Linked DNA regions of Homo sapiens: region 1 is linked to region 2. Evidence: promoter capture Hi-C in 16 types of primary human blood cells and fetal thymus (Javierre and others, 2016). All regions are on one chromosome and are shown on one strand. The core of a region is centred on a gene start or on the middle of the fragment in contact, and the rest is flanking DNA. Distances in the headings are between cores, read along the strand shown. Region 1 overlaps LOC105369321 (a long non-coding RNA gene). Region 2 holds the start of MS4A13 (membrane spanning 4-domains A13).

Evidence for each region. The method cuts DNA at HindIII sites, captures the fragments that hold promoters and counts their contacts. A CHiCAGO score of 5 or more calls a contact.
Region 1: a fragment that was not itself captured here is called in contact with the fragment with the promoter of MS4A13 in region 2 in 2 of 17 cell types (naive B cells and total B cells); the score reaches 6.5 in naive B cells.

What each region holds. Positions count from the first base shown.
Region 1 is chr11:60,608,559-60,615,328 of GRCh38, forward strand. It overlaps LOC105369321 (a long non-coding RNA gene), which reads right to left. Exons shown (of 6, transcript XR_001748240.2): 5 at 2,686-2,849. Among named protein-coding and RNA genes, the nearest start is that of LINC00301, 3.8 kb to the right of the region's middle. The HindIII fragment of the contact is 7,080 bases long and covers 727-6,770 here.
Region 2 is chr11:60,511,987-60,518,941 of GRCh38, forward strand. It overlaps MS4A13 (membrane spanning 4-domains A13), which reads left to right and starts at 3,406. Exons shown (of 7, transcript NM_001012417.3): 1 at 3,406-3,621; 2 at 3,983-4,098; 3 at 6,086-6,226. The coding sequence starts at 6,098. The HindIII fragment of the contact is 9,060 bases long and covers 2,130-6,955 here.

The DNA.
Region 1 (6,770 bases), core at 3,017-5,516, 97 kb after region 2:
TGAATAACTAAGGTTTTGATATGAATTAAGTATAAATAATGCCATCACTAAGCTGTGATTGTAGATAGCTGAAAACACTCGGCACTAACTGTCATGCACTTATATGGGTCCCTCCACAACTGAATAAATAATTTTCCCTTTTATAAAGGTGTTTTGCATTACAGGATGCTTTTATGTCCATAACATATGAGAGAATAAGGTAGAAGATATGTGATTTTCTGGCTCAGGTCTGTTTAATTCTACAGACATTACCCTGGAAACAAAAAGCTTTGTAGAAGTTGTTACCAGGCACGGGGATATGGGACTACTGAAGACTGAAGCCTTTATTTCTCAAAATTTGGGAGAACAAGTTGAATATCTAAGTGTAGAACTTTAGTGTCTTCAGAAACCAAGATTTGGGAGTAATGGAGAAGTTGAAAAAGATGGTAAAGCCTTTTTTCAATAAAGCTATTTTCCTACTTTCTCCATATCAACTACTTCACGTCTAAAGGAAAACTTAACCTCCATTTGACCTCACTAAATCAGAGAACTTCAATCTCACTAAATCAGAGAACTTCAGTGAAAGATATGCCTGCCCTTTTTCCCCAGTACCCACTCAACAGGCCGAGGCTTAGAGATCTATGAGATCATAAAAACAACTGAGAAGGAGACCACAGTTAACACAAAGAAGAAAGTGAGTTGTCCATATATCCTAGACCACATGTGTAGAAAGGTTTAGGAAATTTAAGCTTCCTCCCCATTTTACCACTTTCTAATCTCATCTGTTTGACCCTTTGACCTGCCTTCTTACCTGGGTCTTACTTAATCTCTTCAGGTTGCTGTTCTGTCCCTTGACTTTTCCAACTGTACCTCTATAGTTTTTGTATAGGCAACACCATATATACCTACAGCTTGGTAGATGTATACCATCTATAAATTTATAATAATCCAAATGTTAAATCTCCACCCTAGACCTTTCTACTGAGCTCTAGGCTCATATTGCCAACTTCTCTCTAGAGAGTTTGATTCGAAGGATTCCAAAGCACCTCAAATAAAACATATCTAAAACTGAACTAATCATCTCACCCACAAAGTCATTACCTTGTCTTTTCCATTTAAGAGCACCACCATCTATCTACCTGCCTGCCCTGGCGAGGGAGCTGAGAAATACTCTCAAATTGAAACAATTTGACAATCCTTTTTACATGATCCCCTAAATGTATTTCAATTCTGTCCTCTGTTTCTTCATCTCCCCAAATGAAAGTTTAAACAGGAAACACTTACCACACGAAAGCCTGATATTCTAGCACAACATTCATTTCTGTAATAATTTAGCCCAATCTACTTTCTTGACTTCATTTCCTACCACTCACGCCCATAAATGCTGTGCTCCAGCCTCACCAATTTACTTATCATTCCATAAATATGCCTTGTTAAGTTTACCATCTTAATTTGTAAATAGCTTTGTTTAGGAATCTCTATTTTGAATTAAACTGATAAAATGAATTAGGAGGGAGAGGAATTTATCATATAGATTTCTTTTCTTGTATTTCCCACTTTCTCTTGACACTCAGAGGCTACATCTTCATTTGTACTGCAAAAGTCACTTGCTTTTCAAAACATGTGAATTAGCTATAATTCCAGATGAATTAGGGTATTGAAAACCTGTTATCTGGATCACTGATTGCCTTTCAATGAATCTTCTTTAAGTAAGGTATTAAAATGGGGAGCTGAAGTTCCATCTAAAGGTATTCAAACTCGAAATCTCAAAAAAATATGGCTCTAACTAAAAGCAAAGTAAACAAAACACACCAAACACACACACACACACACACACACACACACACACACACTCACAGAGGTCTTATTCTTAATTCTTCTCTGAATAAAGTGAAAAGAGAACAAACATGGATTGGGTATATAAGAACATATAGATTTCTACTCCAACTAAATAGAATTTAAACTGACAGCTATTCAATGCTATACTTAATAATGTAATCAAGTTTGAGTAGAAAACAATATGCCCTTTATGATCAATCATTGTCTTGGGGACTGTCTTTTCATATAGCATTGTCTTTGGCTTTCAATCTATAGAAACAAAAAAGAAGGGAGGATGGAAACCAGGGAGAAAGGGAGAGAGGACAAAGAAAAAAACTAAAAAGTATCAAAAGCACATGGTTTAATTTAAAAATCTCGCCTGGTGGGGTGGTTCACACCCATAATTCCAGCACTTTGAGAGGCTAAAGCAGGGGAATTGCTTGAGCTCAGGATTTTGAGACCAGCCTGGGGAACACAATGAGACCCCATCTCTACAAAAATATAAAATAAAATAAAATAAAATAAAATAAAATAAAATAAAATAAAATAAAATAAAATAGTAAAGTAAAGTAAAATAAAATAAAATAAAATGCATAAAGTTGAAAAAATTACCCAGGAGTGGTGGCACATCCCTGCAGTCCTTAGCTACTTAGGAGGGGAAGGTGGAAGGAGGGCTTGTGCCCAGGAATTCAGAGTTACAGTGAGCAATGATAGTGCCACTGCATTCCAGGCTGGGTGACAGAGACCTCATCTCTAAAAAAATAAATAAAATAAAAATCTCAATGAGGAGAATACTTCTATTAGAATTATTTCCAAAATTCTAACCCAAATTCTATAGTTCTTTATTTTAGAGTGTGCTAATGATCAATTTACTGATATCTAACTTACCTCAGGTTCATGGCAGAAGGAGATCCTTTCTCTGCATATTAAAGAAACCATCAGTGAGCTCAGTCAAGGAGGAAAGTTTAGTGGCAAATGAAGAACTTCATTCTGTTCAAGAGGCTTCTTGGAAAATGTAATTTCATTAAATCCATCTCAGTATTCTCTTCCCCCTATTTCATTAATAAAAATTAAAATTGATGAATATGGTTATTTTTGTCTACATGAGGAACTGTGCATGAATTTATCTCAGTTTGAATATGGTCAGCCTGAGTTAAGGGATTCTTCCATACAAGAGAAGTTCTATGAATGGGCACATGTTACTAGAGTAGAATCTATACCTAAAATTGATAATGATGTAATAAATGCTAACTCGAGAAAATTATTTCATTGTGAGAAGGAGACTTCGCATAAATGATAAATAATCCCATTGCTTGTGAAGGCTTCTTTGCTTATTAGCTCTAAATACTACTAATTATTTCTTTCTCACTGGATATTATTAAAACATGCATAGCTTACCTACAGTGAAGAAGGTATATTACAATTAGCCATATCTTTATGTTATTGAGACTACATGAATTAATAGCTACTGGATTTAGTTTGTCTAGAAAGTCCAGCTCCCAAAACGTTACATATTTTTGCCTATAATTTTACACTGTGGCTTATCACACTCAAATTTTAAGCAAATTATCTTAGAAATGTTTTGTTGTGTCTATAAGGATGCTTCCTATTTTTTAAATTTTCTTTGATCTCCATACCCCACTCCCCCTTCCCTCCCTCCATGAGCAATTGTTCCACTTTATAAAACATGCATATTTTATTTGTCAGTATCTCCCCAAAAATGTATGGCATTCTATTGTAGGAATGTATCTGGAATCCATGAAGTTCATACACACCCATAAATTACATGCACAAACTTTGCTCCTCCTAACAGTAAGTTTTAAAGATCTATCCGTGTGGCTATCAGTACCTCTATCAGTTGATTTTAAATGCTGCCTAAAGTCTGTGCCATGCACCCCGCACATTTATACATTCGCTGTCCCAGAAATGGGCAACTGGGTTCCCCCCATCTTGCCCCTTAAGTAATTTGGGGGGATACAAATTCAAGATTAGAGTATCTGTGTTATTTACATATATGCCATTTGTTTATGAAGTGCAAAAATTTCCACCATTTAGAACAGTCTTCTGTTGCAGGTCCTTTATTATTGTGTGTTTTTCTTCAGTCTAGTCTGTATACTTTTGTTCTCTTAGGAATTCACAGATTCTGGTTCACCAAGAGAGTTGCTTCTTATTTTTCAATGTGGCAATGGAATTTTTTTTGTAAGTGTGCTCCTTGGAATTGGAGTTCATATGAAGAATAAGTAGCATCTGCTTGGTCTACCTTCATGAACTAAAAACCACAACTGTGAGAGAGACTTGCATAAATGTATGGGTTGAGAAGAAATACAAAGCAGGGAGTAATATTTGAATATACTGGGGAGAAAGAGATAATTGATGGATTAAGGTTTATAAGCCCTTTGAAGGACATGAGATTAGTAGCACAGGGACAGATTACACTTTAGAATAGAGGAAAGACACCTAATTCTGATCAAGTAAGAAAATAGTGAAAAATTAGCTTTAATGTAAATGTTCTTTATCCATTCCTCCATATGAGAAGGATAAGAAAGAACATGAGAGACTTTGTCTTTCCTTTGAAAAAATTGACAAGGCAGTCATTTAGGAGTGAGGGGTGGTAATGAATAAAGTACTTGTTTGGATTAAGAGTTGCCAGGAATCAGAGGCAAAATTGGCCAAATTATACTCAACGATTTAATTAGAAGCACAGATGAAGATACTGGACTTTCAGATGACATCTTTGTTGGGTGTCTATCCATGCCATTGTGAGAGTTTCCCTAAAATATCCTACACAGAAAAGGTGGCATTACAAGGTGGCAAACTTGCATTTGTGGGTTTTAATAAGATGATAATTAGTGGATCTGTGGGATCCAGGCTGAATGAGGAAGGATATGATGCCAGAAATTTTGAAAGAAATGTAGAGATTGGGGGCCAATAATCTGAAAAGGGGCTGCTAACACCTAAGATGCCTTTGTGCAAACTAGACAAAAGTACCCCGTTCAAAAGGACAGATTGCTTAATAACAGCTCCTCTGGGAAAATGAAATAGAAGGTAAGTCCCCTCTGAACAGTACAATTAGAAATTGAGGCCCCTTCCTCCTAGCTAATCAACCCAGCACCAAGGGAGTCTGCCCTGCAAGTGGAGACCAGGTGCAACTGCAGCCCCAATCTTTGACCCCATTTACATGCATCCTTGAACAAGGTCCCAGCTTCAGAGCCTGAGCTAGTTTAACACAAAGAACAGCTCTAGATAGGGAGTCATGACATGGCAGATCTGAAAGATATTTGTTTTTGATCACAGAGCAGGATATCACAATTGAGATACCGGAGAGAATGAGCCGCAAATGTAAATATAGGGTAGCTCCTCCATTTATTCATACATTCATCATAAACTACTTTTTGACAATCTACTTTGCACCAGGCATAATTCTTGCTTCTGGCAACAGATTTAAACAGAAGAGACAAGATCCTGCCTTCAGGGAGCTTATATTCTAGGGAGAGGAAGTCAGTGACACTATATGGACCATGCACTGGTCAACAAAGCAAATACATAAAAATTTAAAAGGCCAATCTCTCCTTCCCCCATAAAAAAAAAAAGAAAAAGAATCATAGTCACCCTTGGAGGGTGTTCATTATTTCAAAATTTCATAAGTAAAGAGATAAAGCACACATCTTGCCTTTCATTTTTGTAACAGTTTCATTGAGATATAATTCACATATTATAAAATTTACCTATTTATTTGTGGGTTTTTTTGTTTCTTTGTTTGTTTTTGAGATGGGGTCTCGCTCTGTTGCCCAGGCTGGAGTGCAGTGGCGCAATCTCAGCTCAGTGAAAGCTATGCCTCCTGGGTTCACACCATTCTCCTGCCTCAGCCTCCCAAGTAGCTGGGACTACAGGCACCCGCCACCATGCCTGACTAATTTTTTGTATTTTTAGTAGAGCCAGGATGGTCTTGATCTCCTGACCTCGTGATCTGCCCGCCTCCGCCTCCCAAAGTGCTGGGATTACAGGCGTGAGCGACTGTGCCCAGCCTGAAATTTACCTATTTAAAGTATATAGTTTAGTGGCTTTTAGTATATTCACAGAGTTGTGTAAGTAACACCACCTAATTTTGGACCCAAACCCATTAGGAGTAATTCTTATTCTCCACCCACTTACCTCAGTATTAGCAAATCACTGGTCTACTTTCTGTCTCTGTGGATTTGCCTACCAGGGCTATTTTATATGAACGTCTTTTGTGACTTGCTTCTTTCACTTACCGTAATGATTCCAAGGCTTATTCATGCTGTAGCATAAACTATAACTTTGTTGTGTTTCATTATCAAATAATACATTATATGGATATACCAAATATTGTTTGTTCATTCATGAGTTGATAGGGATTTGGGTTGTTTTCATTTTTGGCTATTAGGAATATATAAGAATGCTCCTATGAACATTTGTGTGCAAGTTTTTTTTGTAATGAGGACTTTCCTGACTCCCCTCATTTACATTTCCATTGACGCCACCTCCCTTTCATACTTTATTATTCTCCTTAGCTCTCATTATTCTTAACATGCTATAAATTTTCCTTATGAATCTTATTATTGTTTTCCTTATTATTAGAATTTCATCTGTTTTGTTCACTACAGTATCCCCAGCATTGAGAACAATGCCTAGCACATACTGGCACTCAGTGGAAATTTGCTAAATTCATTAATCATAAAAACGGCAAACATAAAAGAGTTCAACAAACATGACTGTCATCTATTACTCATTAGCCAGCTGATGCTAACACTTTAATAAATTAGACAAAACCTTGCAATCATTCATTTATTCCTACTATGTGTTGAGGATAGTTGTTAAACACTGAATATACAACTCAAACTGTCAGGTTCAGCATGACGGACATATATGCACCCGGTTATTGCAGTGGAATATGTTTGTAATCGCAGTGGAATGTGTTTGTAAAACATCTTTGGTTTTCAAAGTTCTGCAGT
Region 2 (6,955 bases), core at 2,156-4,655:
GGAAAATATGCCACAGAAATTTTGAGTTCAGGTATCTGATACTCAAGCTGAAAGATCAGAATCCAGTAGCCAGCCTCACCTAGGTGACCAGGTCTAATCCCTATGGAGAAAGGGCTGTGCTCCTCACTTGTGCATGGACTATAACCAGGCTCCTTCTCTGTAAGGAAGACTGAAGATGATGCAAGGCTGTTTGAACACCTCCAGGGCTCTGATGCTTGGGGAGCCCTGGGAGACAGCATCTGGGGTAAGGCAGCCTTCTCCCAGAGAAGCTGCAGCAAGGCCTGAGAAGACTACAGTGTATCTGGAAAGTGGCTGCCCCATATACTCAGCAACAGCTCAGCCAATGCCTGCTGGAGAACAAATGTGAAAATTCTGGGGACTCCCAGAAATGCTCTGGAAATTGGGATTTGCAGATAAGTGGGGTCATTCTTCAACAGATGGGGGTGGAAACCAGGCCACCTGGGCCATAAGGCTAACATGTCTTGCTAATTCCCACAGGCTGGAGAGGCCTTGGATATCAGTGTTTTCCTAAAACTTGCTGCTTTCTGCCTTTTTCTCTTCATTTTGCATTTAAAACAAACCAAGCAAATTTATAATTTATAACTGTTCTCTCTTTTCTCCTAGCTCTCCTCCTCTCCCTCAGTTCTCTGGTTTCACTCTTATAAACAAATTGCTGTTACTAAATTCTAGCAGCCTAGCAGTGCTCAACGGGCTTCATTCAAACTCTTTCTCCACACACACACCACAGGGGTCTCTATTTCATTTAGGTCTCACTCACAATTTCACTTTATATTTCACAACTCTTCCTACTCTCCCAAGTATTTGGCAACGCTTAAGGATATGGTATGGACTTTTAGGCCAAATGTCATTTCATATATTTATACAATGCTACAATGTGTACTTCAAGACCCTAATTTTACAGATGAGAAATGAATTCAAAGAGTAGAGGAGTGGAGTACACACAGCCAGAACTGGAGCTGGAAACCATCCCTAGATCTTGTGATTGCTTCAACAATATTCTTTATGCAATTCCATGACAGTCACAACATAGAGCTCTTTCTGAAGGAGACTTAGAGGAAGAAAAGTGGGTAGGAGGATGGGCTACAAATTCTGGAGCTAGACTTACACTGCTGGAGTTAGAATCTCAACTCTTAACATTTATAAGCTGTGTGACTCTTAACTTCGCCAAACCTTAGCATACTCATCTGTTAAAATGAAAATAACAATGGTATGTACATCATTGGCATGTGGTGAAGTTTAAATAAGCAATATAAGGTACTTAACATATTGCCTCAACATAGTAAATGAAAGGGAAAAAAAGCAAGATAAGTTTAAGCTATTAATTAGCATTTTACTAAAGAATAGTATATAAGTGATATAGTAAACATATGAAAACTGAAATCTACTATATATATGTGTGTGTACCAGCATATATATATATACCTACATACATATAGATTATACCTTACATAAATATACATATGTATGGACATTGCATTTCTACAATGAATTCAATTGTTTAGTTTCCCCAGTTTGCATAGATTTCCATTTTACTTTACTAGAACACCCTAGTGTTTACACAGAGGAAACATCTGTTTTCTCTAGTGTATAAATAAATAAAATTCCTCAAAGAAATCTGGACAAGTTATTTTATCAGGGCTCACAGCCAACAGGGTCCTTGTAATAATCCCCAACAATGGTTTTAACAACATTATATAGGCATTGTGGTTCCAGCACATTTTCACTAATGTCTTTTGTATACTGGGAACTAATTCAAGAGAAATTAACAATATGATCCACATGGAGAAATAAAAGTCATATTGGATGTCAAACCATGACTGATTGATTGCCTCTTCATTGCTGAAGAATACAGTTTTTAACAACCAAAGGATAAAAAATTAAAGTGAATTCTGAATTTCCAAATCCAGTTTATAGGTACTGAGAAAATCAATGTTGCTTTTACTGATCTGTGATATTAGCAGAAGAAATAAGATGTACCAAGGAACCATGCCTGTCTCATAGTTTGGCTCACTCTTCTATTTTTGCCTATGTTTATACTGAAAACACATTTTGGCCCCAGTCCAAAAAAATGACCAAATCCATGATAATTTCCAGAGACTGTTGGCCAAAGCTTAAATGAAGAAATATGTCACTTCTCTCACAAATAATCAATCAGTCTTGGCAGCAAGTTACAATAGCGGTCCATCTCATCAGAACTGGCTCTTACTACTATGGATTCTAAAAAATCCATAACCCTGAGGTTGAAGACACAGTTCCTCTTTCTACAGCAAAGAGAATGCTTAATATTATCGGAGCCCTGTCTGCTCATAGACAAGGAACTCACAAAATAATAATAATGCTAGAAACTGAAGTGGTATATTACTTAAGAATAAAACTATTACCTTCAATGACATACTGACCAATACAGAATGTAAAGACTTTAGAAGAGGCTGGGCTTTTTTTTTTTGTTTTTTTTTCCTTTGATTTGAGGGGACTTTGGAGTCTCAATGTAAGGAAGCTAGCTGTGAGACTAAAAATTAAGATTCTCAATTTACAGTTGATTTTTCAGGCTATAAAAGATCTTGATGGCTTTTAGACACACTCATGATTTAGCTTTTTGCAAATAAAGGTGTTGAAAGCATAGAAAATTTCCTTATGAAAGAAAAATCTGTCTTGTTTTCTGCGTGTTTTACTCACTGGCTATCATTGACTAAAAATTTACACTACAAGCTGGAATTTTAACTATTCCACAATGTCAATTTAAATTTTCCATGAATAAATGAGAAATGCCATTGAGTGGCTGTTCTCCAGGTACTTTAAACGCCTCAGTAAGTCATGATAGCTGCCTAAGAGGATGGTCTGTACTGCTCATCTAAAGCACCTCTTCATAAACACTGTTTTAACTACTGTCTACACCTCAAACAGAAAACTAACACCACGTGTCACCTAAAAGGTAAACCCGCCTCAGCAAGTGGATCAAAAAGTCATTCTGGTGTCTTGTTAAGTATTACTTTCATCACTAATTTCCTTCTTCAGTTACTTATGTTTAAAGAAAAAAAAAGTGAGCCATTGATTTAGCCACTTCACTCGAAAGTGCACCTTCCAAAGGTGCTCTTGTGGTCAAAATTTTTCTTTGAAGACAGAAAAGGTGAAGGGCGGACTTCTCCTCAGTGATCCTGGTCACTGTGCAGCAGGTGGGTGTATAAGAAATGCACCAATATGGGCAATCTCAGAATAGAGGTTTGCAGAAACCGTTCCTAGAGGCACCAAAACGTAGTTAACCGGGTGTCTGACCACATGGCTGCCAGGAGCCTAGTGAGTCTGCGCACACGCACTACCTCCGCCCCGGCAGTTCCTGAGTGGGTGCGCAGGCGCAAGAGGAGCACACCGTTGCCATTGCAGACCGTCACTCCCTGAGGAGCCTGAGAGCCGGCCGGGTGCTGGGCTCCTGGCTATCCCTGTGATGGTAGCTCAGCGAGATCTGGGGACCTGGCGCTGAGCGCGTTGCCAGCCGGGATCTTCCTCTTCATCTAGGCCTGGGCGCTGGCGTGAGAACTCGGACTGGGTCCTGGACGAGCGCCCCCCGAAACTCCTTGGAACCTTGAACAAGTAAAATGCAGGGTAGTGATGTCGCTTTGCTGGAGTGCTTTCGTGTCAGAAGCCATAAAGGGACACGGAGGCTGATTACGGTGTTCCTCTCCCTATCATACTCTGTAAACAGTAGGCACTATTTACTACTCAGAGATGATAGCTGTAAAATGCCGATATGTTTTAGTCATAGAGAGAGACTTTTCAGTTATGAAGGCTGTTATTCAGAACAGATGGATGAAAGTTGATGCCTCTAATATTAAGGCCTAGAAAGAAGAAAGAAGGCTATTGCTTCTGAATTTGGAGAGGTGGTGACTGAACAATAAGGAAAGGATCAAACTTACGTATTTTCTTCTAAGAAAATAATGTATATGTGCTTTGTACTGTTTTGTAGAAGTTTGCTAATAAAGACATCACCAAAGGTTAAAGAGAAAATCATCTAGAGGAAATGCTGGCAGTATGGCATGTGTTCTTTAACAAATCTCTACAGCAGATTCTCTCGTTTTAGGGGTAAGATTTCACTTTGACTAACTAAATTTAAGATCATGAACTATTTCATTTTTTTAACGGATATATTGGATCTAAAGGGGGACAGACTTGGTTAAATCAAAAGGGTAAAAGTTTTTTTTTTTTCAAATGTTGATTGTCTTCTACAAATTTTGACTGATCTCATGTTCCTTCATGTGCTGAGATATGGGGATACAGACTAAACCAACACACACAGGATAATAGAGAAATCCAAGTAAGGTTTAAAAGGAAAAAAGAGAGTACTGCACTTACATTTATGCAGTAGGATGATTATAAATTTGTCTCTTCTATTAAGTTATAAACATGTGAAGTTACAGTTTAGCTTTCTTAATGAACACCAAGGAATTATGAGTATCATGCTTTTTCACATCCAAAGGGGAGAAAACATTTCCACTCGTGAACTTTTCTTCTGAATTTGAATGTTGCATAGATCAATTATCTAAGTCGCCTATACGACTGTTCAGCAGAGGTTCTTAACCTCTTTGGGGTCACAGACCATTTTGGCATAGAATGAAAACTCTGAATCTTCTTTCCAGAATTATGTACATGTCACAATCCTTCGCATTTTTTTTCCCTGGGGGCAGGGGGTAGGCGGGTCTGACCTCCTGGAACTCATATTGATTCTAGATTAAGAATCATTTTTAAATAAGAAAACCTATCTTGTCCTTCTCCACACACTGGCAGTTCTTAACAAGCATTGGCTAATTAGCTATCTCATGGTTTTATATAAAACAATAGTCAATCATTTAAAAAGAGATAGTACTTTTCAAGCTCACTTACTTTTTTAACAGTTGGGAAAGTCACATGGAATCACTATTCTTGACACCAGTATGCTTATATAAGAGGTATTTGCTGGATGCCTTCTCTATTCTGGGCACCATATTAGAGGCTGGTGATAAAACAATAAAAAAAAAAAAACTCCAGGCCCTAAGGGATTTTGCAGTCTAGTGGGAGATATTTCTCCAGGCAAATCCAAAGAATTTCTGGAAAATTACCATTCTTGCAAATTTGATGCAAGGGGAAACGTTAAATTCTAAATCTATAAAAATGCATGATCGTTACCAAAAAAGAGACTTTTTCTTAAAAAAAAAACAAAACTTCTCCAAAATGTATTTTTTAAAGTTAGCCAATTGCACTTATATATTTCATAGACTGCCTGCTTTGCAAAGAGCTGGAACTCTTAAAACATTAAATAGCTTTCTGTTTAAGTTTATATGAAAATAAAATTTATGTGTCCTCTGTCATTTTTAAAGAGTAATCAAAAATGTGATTAAATATATGAAATATCAGTTCACATATAAATTCAGAAATAAATTTGCTGGGATTATAATTATCTTCTTACAAATTAGAGTTGAGTAATAATTCTCCCCTATTCAAAATCCTTCCCCTTTCCAATGGGAAAACCGAGTTCAAGCGAGTCCATTTTGGATATTTTCTGTATTGCTGTGTTGGATTATGCCCCACTCCAGCATACTTGTGAAAAAAATCATACCAAATACTCCTTGAAGGAAAAGATAAATCAAACCTTTATAAAATTCAAAAAGTGATTCATCTTTAATAAATTACTAATGTACAAGAAAATGTTGGATTTATGGCTTCCTGCATTATAGTAGATTAGTAACCACATTTTCTCTGAAGTAACCCCAATATTCTCTCATACCATTACTTGATAGGTAGGGAGACTATCCAGTGATAGAATCAAACTGTTAACTTACAGGAGAATTGGCCAGAGCTACTATTATTGAACAGCCTGTTGCTTTCAGTATGACTGATTCCTATTTGGTAAATCTCAGTCCTTCCTGATCGGTCCTTTTTTCTGGGATAACCAATCCAGGAAATACATCATTAAGTGCATTGCTGTTTTACTTTTGTATTTGTAAAGGTGTTAAATGCTTCTTATAGTTAACACTTATTGGAATTGTGTTTTAAATTACATTATTTCGGTACTAACATAATTCTCTTCTCACAGACTATCCAGATTATGATTGGCATCTTTCACATTTTCATGTGGTACTTTCTATTGGTTTTGTATATGGGACAAATTAAAGGAGCCTTTGGAACGTATGAACCTGTAACTTACAAAACAGGATGTACTTTATGGGGAATTTTTGTGAGTAGAATACATATATATTGCTTTAATCATACAATAAATAATATTCATGCCAATAGTAGAAGGTAGGGAACGGTTTCTGAACAAGGTTTTCAGGAGAATTATGTAACTAAATCCCATGTTGATAATTTATTCAAAGTCAGATTCCTTTTTTCAACAAATATATATTGAGCACCTTTAATTTACAAGTGCTGTTTCAAGAGATATGGATACAGGAGTACACAATGACAACCATAGGGCAGTTTGTCCCTAGATATGTGAAAGGCAAAGAATCTTAACTATAATATCCATTAGCATGATTAACTTGCATGTTTATTATCTTCACTTCAGTCTCCTCACCCAATGAGTCAGTACTCATTTTCTAAATTTTTCATTACTAACACTCTCCTGTGGTTTCTAGATAGCCATTAGGTAGAGGAAAACCTGGAGAGCATGATATCCTGGAAGCCAAGTGAAGAAATTGTTAGAAGAAATGAGGAAGGATCAACTATATTATATTTTGTTGTTTTGTCAAATAAAATGAGGACTACGAATTGACCATTGGATTTAGCAATATGGAAGTCAGTAGTAAATTTTACAAGTAGTTTCAGTGGAATTGTGAAGCAAAAACCTGGTAGGAGTTGATTTAAGAAAAAAATAGGAAGAGAGGAATTACAGACAGCAAACAGGAGCTTCTTTAAGGACTTTACTGTAATGTGGTATAAAGAAATGGGGTGATAGCTGGGGAAA